Regions from separate parts of the Homo sapiens genome. Here region 1 is linked to region 2. Evidence: promoter capture Hi-C in 16 types of primary human blood cells and fetal thymus (Javierre and others, 2016). All regions are on one chromosome and are shown on one strand. Each heading gives the region's core, a stretch centred on a gene start or on the middle of the fragment in contact. The rest is flanking DNA. Distances are from core to core; before and after follow the strand shown.

Evidence for each region. Contacts are between HindIII fragments. The CHiCAGO score rates a contact against its expected background, and 5 or more counts as called.
Region 1: a fragment that was not itself captured here is called in contact with the fragment with the promoter of SDR16C5 in region 2 in 1 of 17 cell types (total B cells); the score reaches 5.5 in total B cells.

The regions. Positions count from the first base shown.
Region 1 is chr8:57,123,580-57,130,643 of GRCh38, reverse strand. It overlaps the pseudogene RNA5SP266. Among named protein-coding and RNA genes, the nearest start is that of LINC01606, 91 kb to the left of the region's middle. The HindIII fragment of the contact is 294 bases long and covers 5,092-5,385 here.
Region 2 is chr8:56,316,579-56,323,944 of GRCh38, reverse strand. It overlaps SDR16C5 (short chain dehydrogenase/reductase family 16C member 5), which reads left to right and starts at 3,770. Exons shown (of 7, transcript NM_138969.4): 1 at 3,770-3,886. The HindIII fragment of the contact is 5,835 bases long and covers 2,767-7,366 here.

The DNA of each region.
Region 1 (7,064 bases), core at 3,989-6,488, 810 kb before region 2:
AGAAAGGAGAGGCTTCCCTGAGTGGGAGTCCCACCATCAAGTTCTGGACGAGAGCACCCGCTGAGGATACAGCAGATGAAATAGCAAGCCATTCCATGGTGCATTTCACTGTCTTGCATTTGCTCTTTGAACTATGAAGGCATTCATACAAGTGTATAGTTTATAAAAATATGTACATAAATAAGCCGGGCGCGGTGGCTCATGTCTGTAATCCCAGCACTTTGAGAGGCCAAGGTGGGTGGATCACGAGGTTAAGCATTCGAGACCAGCCTGACCAACATGGTGAAACCTCACCTCTACTAAAAATACAAAAATTAGCCAGGCATGATGGCACGTGCCTGTAATCCCAGCTACTCAGGAGGCTGAGGCAGGAGAATCTCTTGAACCTGGGAGGCAGAGGTTGCAGTGAGCCGAGATCATGCCATTGCACTCCAGCCTGGGCAACAGAGTGTGACTCCGTCTCAAAAAAAAAAATATATATATATATACATATATATATATGTGTGAACATAAATATATAGTTTATAAAAAGAACAAAATCTTTCTAAATTCTAATCCCTTTAGTCCATCACCTCTCTCCAGTACAATTGGGTGTCACGTACCTGGGTGGTAACAATGAGGAGAGTCAAGGAAGGGAAAGTGAGGTTGTGGTGGCCTCATAGTTGCCCTGGGGCTGCAGCATCCTCTCAAGGTGGCTGATAGCCAACAGCTCCGGACAGTGGTTCCTAGTGGACAAGTGAGGATAAAGTGAGAAAAGAAATAGCTGGAAACACCTTGAAGCAGATATGAGACCATCTTCCTTTCACAAACAGATTAGAAGCCGACCCTTCCAGGGTGAGGAAGTTGGCTGCTTCTCACAGCTCCTTCTTGGGATGGACTGTTCAGCACCTGGGCCAGCATGTCAAACGTTGTACTCCTGTTGGATTTTATTTCATGGCTGGGATATCGTGTTTTGGAGTCAGTTTGTGTTTTTAAAAATTGTAATTAGTTGCTGATATTGGAAAATCATGAGGTTTCAATGGAAATTGAGATTTCTGGCTTTTATAAACCTATTAATGACAATATCAAGCCCAAATTCTAGAATGACAGCACTCAGCCAGACACCAGTAGCCACTGCTGCTGTAGAGGAGGGATCACCCTTCACAGTCCCACCTGGCCCTTCTGGTGTGTGCGCACCCCCTGACCCAGATGAAGCATGGGAGGGCACCCTGCTCTGTCACCTGAGGGAAAAGTGAGTAAATCATGCCAACTGGTTCATTTTTCCATTTTGCTTTTTTTTTTTTTCCTATTCACTTCTGTGATTTAAGGGAAAGGACTTTGCTATATGACTAAATGGGAATGTCTGGCTTGGAGCTAACACCACAGATTTCAAATACTCAGTCTCAAAACACCATACACACACACACACACACACACACACACACACATATTGCTTACAATGTAAACTAATGCAACTTTTGAGTTGCAAAATTGGCAAAAGCAGTGAGAAATTGGGAATGCAATTTCCAACACACTGAGCATCAGAGTCTAAGGGCTTTGAGATTAATATCTTAGAGCATCATCCCTCAAGTAATAAATGTACTTATTTATAAACATAGGGAGAGAAAAAGAAAAAACTATTCCCTGGTATTATTCTCCTACACATCGCTTTTCTGGTTAAGGCAAGATATCAGCAAGTTAAGTTACACAATCCAGAACAGACCCATTTCATCTTGCCAGACTTTTCTCAGTACTTTGGGGCTATACATAGTAACAAATTGAAATAAAATTGTATTGCACATGTCCCCATGAACTGCAGAATCTAAACTGTACAAATCCATGGTTTACATTCTGTGGCTATAACATATTTACAAAAATATGTGAACTTTTTCGTTATATCTATAAACAGATTTTAGAAAAGTATCTTCAGAGAGTATATTTCCTAAATGTTTTGTTTCGAATGCTTTCAAAGTGACATTTCTTTTCTTCTGTCCCCACTTCTTTGGTTAATATGTGAAATGAATTACATTTTAATTGTGTTGGTCTTTTCAGTGACATCACGTAGAACTGCTTCGCAAATATCTTCCCAGTTTTGGTCTACCTAGTAGTCAGTAGCAGAGAAGGTAGGTATTTAGAGAATAATCTGCCCTAAGTAAGTCATTGTTATTTGAAGAATTCTATATAATAAAAACAAGCACGTATATGCTGATCTTATTTAGCTTTCTAGCTTCTTGGGGCATTTCCTTAACTATTTCACTCACAATCTAGAAGCTCAGCAAACAAATTCAGAAAGGGGGAGCTGGCAGGGTGGATGACCCCAGACCAAGGGGTTAACCTAGCTCCATTTTGCAGCTGAGGGTCACCATACATATGCTGCTAGCATAGGACATAATCAGAAACAAAAAGCAGCCAGGTCAACCTCTAAAAGAAGTGACTCAGATACATGGTAAAGAGACACCCAGCAAAAGTCACCTGCCCACAGTGTCATCCCCTTAGTCCTTCTCCCCAAGCCAGAGCACCAGACCCTTGACTTCACTTTCTGCTTTTCTGGAAACAGCAATGGGCTCAGACTCAGAACACTGAATTTTAATCCAGATCCACCACCTGTTTTATGACTTTGTCTGTATTTCCAGTCTCCAGTTTTGCTGTCTGTTCAATGAGGATAAAAATGATAATCCTGAAAAAATATTGTAATAATCCATTTATTCACTGAACAGATATTATTGAATTCTTACTGAGTGCCAGGGACTGTTCCAGGTGCTGGAAATACAGCAATGGGGAAAAAACTAAGTTCTTGTGCTCCTGTTGCTTATTTTCTAGGAAAGAGATTATAGTAACACAGTATAACATAATGTGATGTTGTTGTACAAGAAATGTAATAAGGTAGTGATAACCAATAGGAAGAAAAAGACAAAGTAGAGGAAAAGGACAGAGATTGACAAACAGGTGATTTTTAGAGATGACTGATCAAAGACAAAACTGCATGTGTGAGAAGAGAATGCCAGGAGCCCAGCTGTGAGCCTGATGCTGGGGAGGCTTGCTGCATGAAAAGTAATTCTTCTATATGTGGCTCACCCTACTGTTAAAAGGAAAAGCCTCACCAAGTTAGAAATACTTAGTTAGAGGAATTCAGACTTTTCATTGAAGCCCCAAAAAGTTCACATAATAAGGACAAGTTCACTATTTTATAGCTGTAGTTCAAATACATAATAGAAAACACTAGTGCAAAGATATAGAATCAACCTAAGTACCCATTGACCAAAGAGTCAATAAAAAAAATGTGGTATATATACACCGTGGAATACTACTCACCATTAAAAAAAAATGATATAATGTCTTTTGCAGCAACTTTGATGGAGCTGGAAGCCATTATTCTAAGTGAAGTAACTCAGGAATGCAAAGTCAAATATCATATGTTCTCACTTATAAGTGGGAGCTAAGCTATGAGGACGCAAAGGCATAAGAATGACATAATGGACTTTAGGGACTCAGGGAGGAAGGTTGGAAGAAGAGTGAGGGATAAAAGACCACATATTGGGTACAATGTACACTGCTCGGGTGATGGCTGCAATAAAATCTCAGAAATCACCACTAAAGAACTTACCTGTGTGACCAAAAACCACCTGTACCCAAACAACGATTTAAATTTAAAAAGATTTTTTAAATCCTTCAAATCTAAAAACAAACAAAAAAAGGGAAAACACCTGTGCTAATTAATCCCAGGACTAATTAAGGACCAAAACCTTAAAACTAAGGACAAAACTGGAATAGACTAACCTTAGCAAAGCTTAAAACAAGTTTTGAAATAATCAAAGTGAGGTGCCAGGAATTTTTAAAAACTTTTTACTTTTAAATAATTCTAGATTTATAGAAAAGTCACAGACATAGTACAAAGAGTTCTCATAGTCTACCATACCACTCTGAACACACCTGATCTTGTCTGATCTCGGAACCTACGCAGGGTTTGGTCTGGTTAGCACTTGGATGAAAGAGTTCTCATATACACTTCACCCAACTTCCCTAATACTAGCATCTTGCATAATCACAGCACAGTTAATGAAATCAGAAAATTAACATTAATATAATGCTATTAACTAAACTTCAAGCCAGACTTTGTTCAAACTTCACCAGTTTTTTGCTAATCTTCTTTTCTGTTCCCACAGTGTATTCAGTTATATCTTTTTAGTCCCCTCCAATTGGCAATACCTCCTCCAATCCTCATTCTTTCCTTGTTTGCTATGACCTTAATACTTTTGATAATTGCTGATCAGTTATTTCATAGAATGGTCCTTACTTTAGATTTCTCATGATTAGACTGAGATTGATTAGACTGAGATTATGCATTTTATGTGAGAATGGCACAGAAGTGATGTTGTGCCTTTCTTAGTGCAGTATATCAGGTCATACATGCTGTCAATGTGCCTTATTACTGATATTTCTAACCTTGAACACTTGATTAAGACAGTGTGTGCAGTTTCTCCACTGTAAAATTACTATTTTTCTTTTATAATTCACCAATATTTTGTGAGAAATAATTTGAGACTACATATGCTGTTTCTCCCCAACATTAATTTTAGTATCCATTGGTGAATCTTGCCTACAGCAATTATTCTTGTGGTATTTGCCTAATAGTAATTTTGTATTTCCTCCATATCTTCTTCATATATTAATTAGAATTATTCTGTAAGGGAAAGCCTTCTCTTTTCACCCATATATGTATTTATTCAATCACTTATTTATATCCACATGGGGTCATGGATACCTGTTTTATTCTATAAGTTATAATCCACACTATTATTGAGATGGGGGAATTCCCTGATATTCCATGCAGGACATGTGGCAGAGGTGTGGCTACTGTGTTCAGCCACCGTGTGCTCAAACCCCCTATGGGAGGGGGAGCAAGCAGATGGGCAGGTGCAGGAGCCGGGGCACGTGCTGTGGGGCTCCGGTCCCATGGTAGCATCTAGGAGTGGGTGGCTGCCCAAGTGGTGTGATGTGTGTTACAGTGTGCTCTTTCAGCTTTGTCTAAAATAAAATAAAGTAAAATAAAATAAAATATAAATATACCCATGGCTAGTATTCTACAGTGACAAAGGGAATAAACCAAAAGCTTACTTTTAGAAATGCCATTAGTTCTGTGGCTTAGTGTACCTTTTAAATCAATAAAATCATATAAGAGAATCATATATTTCATATCCTCTTCAGCTTATAGGAAAAGTGGCATACTCCTTTCCTTGGCCCTTTACCTGACATCTTCAGAATGCCAGAAGTATAACTTAAGTTCTTGTTTGGCACTCATTTATGCTTCCTCTGAGCAAAGAACTCAGAGATCAGCATTTCCATAATAATTTGTCAAAGACAAAAAAAAATTAGCACCTTGACTTCAAGCGTAATTCTAAGAAAGCTTAATCTTTGCACCCCAGGGAGGAGTTGATCCTGGCACACTGGGGCTTCACCATCTCAATCTGGACATTTCACATTGCCCAAGACCTCAGTTGCACATGGAAGTCACAAAAATACTTAGGAATGTTATTGCTGTTTAGGAATGTTAAAATCTGGACTAATGGAAGGGAAAAAAGTCCAGTCCTGGGTACCATTGTGCTTGATCCAAGTAGTTGTTCCTACCCTGCATTCACAGTAGCAACAGGTATGCAGCTATAATTTACCTGGTAGTCAAGGGACAAATACATCTCTGCTAGACTGGAATGAAGTAGTTATGGAAAACACTATTACAAGTTATAACAATACAATAACAACTGCCACCACCGTTGAATGATTTCTGTGTGCTGGAGACTGTTTTAATTTTTAAAATTAATTCATCTCAATTATCACTGAGAGATAATAACAACTGCAAACACTTTGCATAGTCACTTATCTGCCAGGGGCAATTATTTGTTAACTCATTTAATTGCCACAGGAACTCTCTGGAGGCACTATACATATTCCTGTGTAAAGCATGAGGAGCATGAAGCACAGCGTGAATAAGTAATTGCCTGCAGTCTAACAATTGTTAAGTGGAGGAGCAGGCTTTGATCCCAGGCTGGTCCCAGAGTCCACACCCTCCAGTATGATGCCATCCACCTCTATGTCCATTTCAATATCACAGATTTACAAACCTGAAGCTTCCAGAGGACACGATTAAGGCCCAGAGAGAGTGGCTTGCCCAAGATCCCACAGTGAAGGTGCTGCAATTTGAGCCTGGGGTTGACAGAGCCAAAACCTGTAATCTTCATGGCTGTTGGGAAAACATCCAGGCAGACAGCTGCTGCTCTACTATCTGGGGGTGGCCCTTGAGGGTTGTCCAGAATCCACAGTTTGTCACGCAGATAGAAATATCCATTCTCTAATCACGTACAACATATGGTTAAAGACCACTGCCATCTGGCAGAATCAGAAGTCTGGTGCAGAGTATATGTGATGGTCCTTCTTTTCTTCTGTTCAGAGCAGATGCAGTAGTGAAGGTGATGGTCTTTCATGTGAATGGCTAATGGACAGTGACGGGGAGCACTCATGGGACACTCATGGGTCCTGGGCACATAGGCTGATACAGGATAGCTGGCTAATGCTTTTTTCTGTTTCCTCTACTTTAGCCCACTATGTGCAAATGTGAGAGATGGATTGATTTGCTGAAGGATAATTCAGTTCCCATAGTGAAATGGAAGAAAATATCATTGTGGGCATTTACAAGTTGCATGCATCATGCCATGTTTTGGAAGCCAAATCCAAGCTGTTTTGAATGTATTGCCCTATTATAGTCCAAGCAATATAATTAAAAGCTATGGCTAGTATGTAATTGCTAATTGTACAATAACCAGCAGTTTCTTCTGGATTTTAATATTTATTCATAATTTCCCTCACTAAATCAAATTAACCATTTTGGATAGCCAGGGGCTAATTCTGTTGTCATTATTTTTGTCCTACAAATAGACTTCTTACATTCCAGCTGGCCAACTGATATTTGAAGACAGAACTGACTCAATCGTGTTCATTTTATGCTTAGTTAAATAAAAGACACGCAACTTGGGGTTAAATATTGAGTAACTAGATCTATCAAGCCAGCCCAGCATTTCATATTCAATAAACAA
Region 2 (7,366 bases), core at 2,521-5,020:
TTAGTAGAGATGGAGTTTCACCATGTTAGCCAGGATGGTCTCGATCTCCTGACCTCATTATCCACCCACTTCGGCCTCCCAGAGTGCTGGAAGTGTCAATATTCTTATGTGATAGATTCCTAAATGTGAAATAGCAGTCAAAAGTTATGATAGCTACTGCCCAATTACTGTCCATAAAAGACTCAAAGACAAATATCCCCACATTGTTTGAGAATGTCTGTGTTCCCACACCCTTGCCAATCCTGAATTCTTTTTTTTTTTCTTTTTTCCCAAGATGGAGTCTTGCTCTGTTACCCAGGCTAGAGTACAATGGCGCGATCTCTGCTCACTGCAACCTCCACCTCCCGGGTTCAAGCAATTCTCCCTGCCTCAGACTAGTGAGTAGCTGGGATTACAAGCGCCCACCACCACCCCTGGCTAATTTTGGTATTTTTTAGTAGAGACGGGTTTTCACCATGTTAGCCAGGCTGGTCTTGAACTCCTGACTTCAGGTGATCCACCTGCCTTGGCCTCCCAAAGTGTTGGGATTACAGGCATGAGCCACCATGCACAGCCCCAATCCTAAATTCTTATCTGACTTTTTAATATGTGGATATTAATGAATGAAAAAAAGGTTATTCCTTTTCCAATTTCCTTTTCCTGAATATGAGTGAAATTTCGCATCTTTTTAGGCATTTTCAGTAATTTATATTTATTTGCCTATAAATTTCTTTATCAATTTTTCCCACTGTCTTATTTCAATCAGTTTATAGAAATGCTATATATTATGACAAATTATCAATGGTCAACTCTTTATGCAAAACTATTTTCTCCTAGTCTGTTGTTTATCATCTTACTTTGCTTATGATATTTCCTTGCCTAGTCCCAAATTTCAAAACAATTTTTCAATATTGTATTTCAATACCTTCAGAGTGTTGTTTTTTATATTAACACTCTTATTCCATCTGAGTGTCCCGTGTCCTATTTACACTCTGCGTTTGTTTACTGAATTGTGGTTACTCAGGCTTTCTGTTGGGAAGAATGACTCATTTTTGCAGTACCTTCCGTGTGTCATAGCTTAAAGTATCTTTTGCTCTGGTTTCTGGAAATAGGATCCATCTGCTTAATGAAGTCAACCCTCACTGGTAGCTCCTTTCTTTTTTCTAGCACTAATGTGTTTATTTGCATTTTTATATTTTCTCTTTTATTTCAATGGAATTTTGGAAGAAAATAGGATATGAATGCGTATGCTCACTGTGCTATCTGGAATGGAAGCATCTGTGTATGTGTGGCCACAGAAACATTTTTATTATGAGATAAAGATATACACATAATGGAAAATTTGGAAAATACAAAAAGATACAAAGAAATAAATTCAACCAACATTCCACTACTATATTACAAAAAGTGTTAAGATGTTGATGAACTCTCTTCCAGTGTTTCTAATGCATGTACATAAAATTTTCATAGAAATTAGAATCATAGCAAATATATTTAGTCTTGTACTGTGTTTTTTAAACTCATATTCTGTGAAGTGTACTTCATACCCTTGAAAAACATGATTTTATAAAGATGGCTGTAGAGTACTCCATCGGCACATACTTCTTAGGAATTAAAGATCAATTTATTTTGATTAATATACTTGTTTCCTAAAAAGGTACTACTTCACATGATTCAGTGGAGTGGAAAGTCTCTTTCCCATCCCTGACTCTCAGTGACCCAGTTTCCCTTCCTGAAAGGCCACAGACAATACCTGGGTATTTGGTAAAGATAAAGGTGGAATTGGGTCAGAGGATATATCCCTTTCTAATTCCTGAAACATATTTGTTTTCCAGAAATGTATAATTTATACCCCCATATGAAGGCATTCTTTTAAAAAAAAAAAAAAACTTTCAATTTGTAAGGTAAGAAATGTTTTCATATGCATCTCTTTGGCCCTAAGATCAAAGAAATTGAGAATAAGATTAAACCACTTTTTCATGTTTATTAGCCCATGACACATGTTCTATCATAAACTGTCCATTCCTAGCCTTTGCCAAAAGAGACCCTTTAGAAATCCTTTCCCAGCTTTCAGGATTATGGTCAGTCCTCTGAGTTTCCCCCACATCAAGTCAAAGCAGGACCCTTTCCAACCAGCAGGGCCTCTGGCTTCTTTCACTGCGTCACCGGTGCATCCCCCACTACTCACTCTCATCTTTTGTACTGATGAGATTTCTAATAATGCTCCAAATTTCTTTCTTGAGGTCCACCCAGGGCTTCTGACCAGAAAGAAGAGTGACAGCCTAGGATTCTGCTCAGAGAAGCCATGAAGATAATAGGAGGCTGGTGTTTCCCAGTGTCCACTCATCTGAACTCTTGCAGGCAGGCTGCACCATCAAGGGCCCATTACCCGACGTCTCTCTGCCTCAGTCCACTCTCACTCCCAGGTGCTGCTCACCTCCACACCTTAGCCCATTCTGGAAGGCCCTTTGAGTCCAACTGCCTCTCCTCCTGCAGGCTGGTTGTGGACTCTGGAAGCACCTGGGGTGCATGTCTATCACCCGCACTGTTTATGAATGTGTCTCCCTTCTCCCTCAGAAGCCCTGCAACTCCCCAGAGCCCCACACAGCAGTGTCGCTGTGTGGTGACGGCTGACTTGAAACCAATGCACGCACATTTACCCACTCACCTTCCCACACGCCTCGCATAGCTTGCCACAGCTCGCTGCTGCTGCCTAAAGCACACAAGTAACCTCTTAAGTACTGAAAAGACAGTCGAGGGTTTCCCCTGCACCTACTTTTCCAAGCTTATACGACCTGCCTGTTTCTTCTGTCACCCAAATAAAGAACAAATGTGCAGTTCCTCTACTCCAGACCTGTCCCAGATATGGGCTGGCTAAGGCTGCTCTTCGACCCCTCACCACTTTTCCTGTCCTACTCAGCCCCGGGATAAATTTCAAACCCAATCTCATCATGACTCCCCTGTTTTTCTTTCAACATCCCATAATTTATTGTCATTTCTGCCCCTCATTGCCCCCAGAAAAGTTCACCCTCTATTATTAGCATCTCAGTGGTGTCTTGTGCTTATATTAACTCTTTTATTGATTTATTAATGAATGTTTTTCCTTTTTTTTTTTCTTGACAGATATATCATCGCTGTTATCTTCTGGATCGCTGTACACCCAGATGCTTAATATATCTTGATTGGGTCAGAGTGCCTGGTGACTCTTACGCTAGCCTCATTTCTCGGCTTCATCTTGTTAGAACAAATTTCCTCGCCCTCTTCTCCTAGGCCGCCTGCCAGCGCCGCACCCACTCCTGCCCCTGCCTGCACCCCACCCACTTCCCGGGGACTTCCGAGCCCACGCCCACATCCTTTACCTCCAAGGGGCAAGGAAGCTGTTGACTTAAGATCCCATGTGGAGCAGTCAGATGCTGCTGGAGAACTCCCCGCACTGCAGGCTCCAGACACACGACCTGGCCCCTCCCCCGTGGACGCCTATACTGCTCTGTTCTCTAATTCCAGGGTTCCCAACCTCGGGGTTGTGCCTTGCAAATACCTGGGAAACTTTTCTAGCTAATGCCTAGGCCCCTACCAACCCAGAAATTCCCATCTAATAATCTAGGGTACAGCCTAGGCATTGAAACGTTAAGCCTAAGAGAAATCCGGCGCACGCATCCAGTTTCCACCACCGAATTTCCAGCTTCTTAAATCTGCAGGTCCAGAAAAAGAAGATGGGAGTGCTGCCCACGTCGCGCACTGGGGCTACGGCCGGCCCCACCCCTGGCGCTGCCGCGGCAGTCCCGCCCTTGGACTTGGGCGGCGCCTGGATAAACACCTGAACCTGACTGAGCTCCGAGCCAGGGACTCGGGTGCCTGGGGCAGACGAGGCCGGCTTCTCCGCGGACAGCTAGGGAGAGTGTCCTGGGTAAGTTGCCGAGGTCGTCGGTCCTGGGTGCTGGCTCCCGGAGGAGGTCGCGCTGGCGGGGGTCGGGCGAGGCCGCCCTTTGGGCTGGTTTCACGCTGGGTCGCTCGCAAGGGGGCGCGGGTCGCCGAGCCGCGGCAGGACCCACCCGCGAGCTGGTGAGAAAGCAGCTGCACCGGGTAGCGCACGGCTGAGCGTCCCAGAAGCCCGGGCTCCCGTGGCTACGGCTAACGCAGACCCCTCGCCCCCGGGGGTGAGCTGCCAGCCTCCCTCCCCACCCGGAGCAGAGGGCAGGATGCCTCCCCGGACCCTCTTCTTCGGTCCGTTCTGCCCAGGTTCCCTGCTCTCTGCTGCTCAGTGCATCCACCTTCCGGGTGGATATCAACCCCCATATCACCCCTTTCAACCCAAGCTGTGATTGTCAGTCTGTCTGCCCTCCCGTTTCGTCCGGGTGCCCTCACCAGAGCCGACTTGCTGCCGCGCACTGGTATGGGAAGCCGAGGGCGCCTGTTTGGATTGGGTAGGCCGCGAGATAGGGACACCTAGAAGACTTCTGCCAGATTAAATTGTATACGCTCCGTAACATTCTAGGAAAGTCTTTGCAGTAAAATGGAACCGTACATTCACTCTTGTTTGTAAGTATACTATAACCATATTTAATTGATATAGCCAGGGATTATTAATTCATATGCTTAACAGGACCAGTGGAAGTTCTAGCCATTAATTATTTTGCTGTCATTCTGTGCCTGGCACTGTTCTAGAAAGGCCTCCATGTTTTATGGCTGTGCCACATTATTATGGGGATTGAGGAGCAGAGGGGGAGACATGTAAGCTGGCAGGTGTTGAAATCCAAACAGCTCCTCTTGCACCCCCTCCCCAACCCCTTGCACCCCGCAGAGGACTTTGTGCAGGGCAATGCCTTTTTTTTTTTTTTTTTCTAATTTGTTCGAAGGTTTCACACAAGCTAGTAGTGACCACATAATGCTCCTTAAAACTTTACCTATATAAACTGGTTTAATTCTCACAGCTCCTCTGTGTGGTAAGTATTCCTATGCACTATTAGAAACTCCCTTTTTAGAGGAGGAAACTGAGGCACAAGAGATTAAATCATTTCTACCAAAGTTGCAGGGAAAATCAGTGATATATCTGGAATTCCAACCCAAACTTTAATCTCTAGACCTCATTGCCTGTGTGGGTACCCAGCAGGCACCCTAAACTTCAACTGGGGAAGGGAGGTAACTCAGGCTGACAAGCTCTTAGAAATCTAGTAAGCATCTGCCAAGACAGGGTTAAAAGATGGACATATTTTAGGTCTTGCATCAAGCCAACATTGAGACAGTGGAACACTGAAATCTAGAATGTCCTGACATTAAGAGCGTTCATGTCACCCAGGTCAATGTTGAGACTTCTGGCCACTGCTGAGGTGCTGGAGCCCTGTGATGGGAGAAGTAGACCTCTGTCCCTCTATGTGAATTCACATAGTGATATAAAAGGGAATGTGGTGGTCTGACCAACTACTCCTGGTGTGGATTTTCCAAAGTTGGCGACGCCCAGGCTGCTGTCTGAGAAGGGCGCCTAGGGTTTCCCATTACTGTGTGCACAGTCTGACCCTCATCCTTGCAGATCCACAGGTACAGGCTCCATGTATTTGATATGAGAGTCCTCTTTCAGGACACCTTTTCAAGTTCTGCAGTGCCTGAGAGGCCTGATCAATCATTCAAAAGTTACTCTGTGAATGTAAATCAGAGCAAAGATCACAGAGAGTTTGAGGTCTATTTCATCAAAGCATGGATGAAAACGTTCTTCATTTGACCAGAGCATCCATGTTCCTTAGAGCAAACATTCTTATTCTCTGGACAGCCCTGGACACACAGGTCAAACCTGCCTTAAAACAAACTATTTTGTCCCTCTGCCAGGAAAGCTACTGCTCAATATCCCTACCTCCCACCATCATCATTTGGATATCCACTCAAAGGGTCACTTTCCAGCAGACATCTGTTGCTTCCTCTCCCAAGCCCAATCTGAATCAGCTCTCCGATCATCCTCTCCATAGCACACTGCACTTTTCTTTATAACACTATGGCTTATAACGATCTGTTTATTTGTTGAATACGTCTCTTCAACTAGATTACTTGGCTCACCTGCACAGAGATTATGAGAGGCTGCCCATCCCCTCAGCCCCAGTGCCCAGATAGAACCAGCACAGGGTGGATACTCAATAAACATAACACATGAACCAATCTGGCCCTCACCAGCTAACCAGCACAGGGACCCTGAACAAGTCACATACATCTTCTCTTCGATCCTCAGTCTCATCTGTACAATAAGCCAGGAACAACAGCCTGGGTTGCATCGACTCTCGACATTTCCTAAGGGTGTGACCACATACCAAGTCCTCCTGTAGATGAATCTATCCACCCTTACTCATTAACCGCAACTAGGCTGACTTCAGCCAAACTGTGAAGACCTGCTCTTTTTTCATTACTCCCCTCCTGTCTCCTCACACCTGTGCCTTTGTCTGAGCCTCTCAATTAAACACCCCATTCAGAGAAGGCTCCCACCCCCAGCACAGTATGCTGTCTGCTAAATATGTCTTCTGTTCCCATCCTGAAGGAAATAAGACCTTCCCTTCTTTCTCAGCTAGTGGTTAGTAAAGCACACCTTATATATTCATTCACACTAAAGTGTGAGTAACTGGTAGCAGGATGTAAGCACTAAGCTCTGTATGAGTTTGTCAAGGGGAGGCCTTTTATTCATTCAGCAGACCTAGTGGATGCCTTCTTGGTGGGCAGCACTATGAATCTGAGAAATGTGATAACATCTGTAAAGCACTGACTATAAGCCAGGCATTGTGGTCATACGTGGAACATTCTCATTTCATCTGCAAAAACACCCTATGCCACGGGACCAATATAGATGAAGAGACCAAGGCCCAGTGTAAGGCCAAGAGAACCCCCGCCATGGGGTTCACAGGTAGGCAGAGGCAGTGCAGGGCAGGAGTCCAGGTCTGCCTCGCCTGTGACCTTTAATCACACAGAGTGGTAAGTGATATAGAGCTGTTGGTGCGGGGACCTCAGAGCCTAGGGAAGGGCTATCTGGTGCTGATTGCAAATCTGTCGGAAAAGGTCTAGAACATCTGGTTACTTCCTGTCAAATGCTTTCTACAAATAGGACTTTACATTTTCCTCTCAAATCTCAGATTTTAAATAGTAATGCAAAATTAACGAGAATGCAAATGAGAAAGCACAAACATCAAAGGAGAGAAACATAAAGCCAGAGAGGTAGTAATGATGTTATAAACATTGTGATGTGGTCAAGACTTTGAACATAAAATCAGCCAACAGGATTCATTATTATTATGAAGAAAGGCTAACTATGAGCAATAATGAACTTATTCTTTTGTGTTAAATTTGGGTGTGGTGGTTACAGTTCCTGGTTAACAAACATTTCTGTTGTGTACTGCACATAGCAGGCATGCAAATA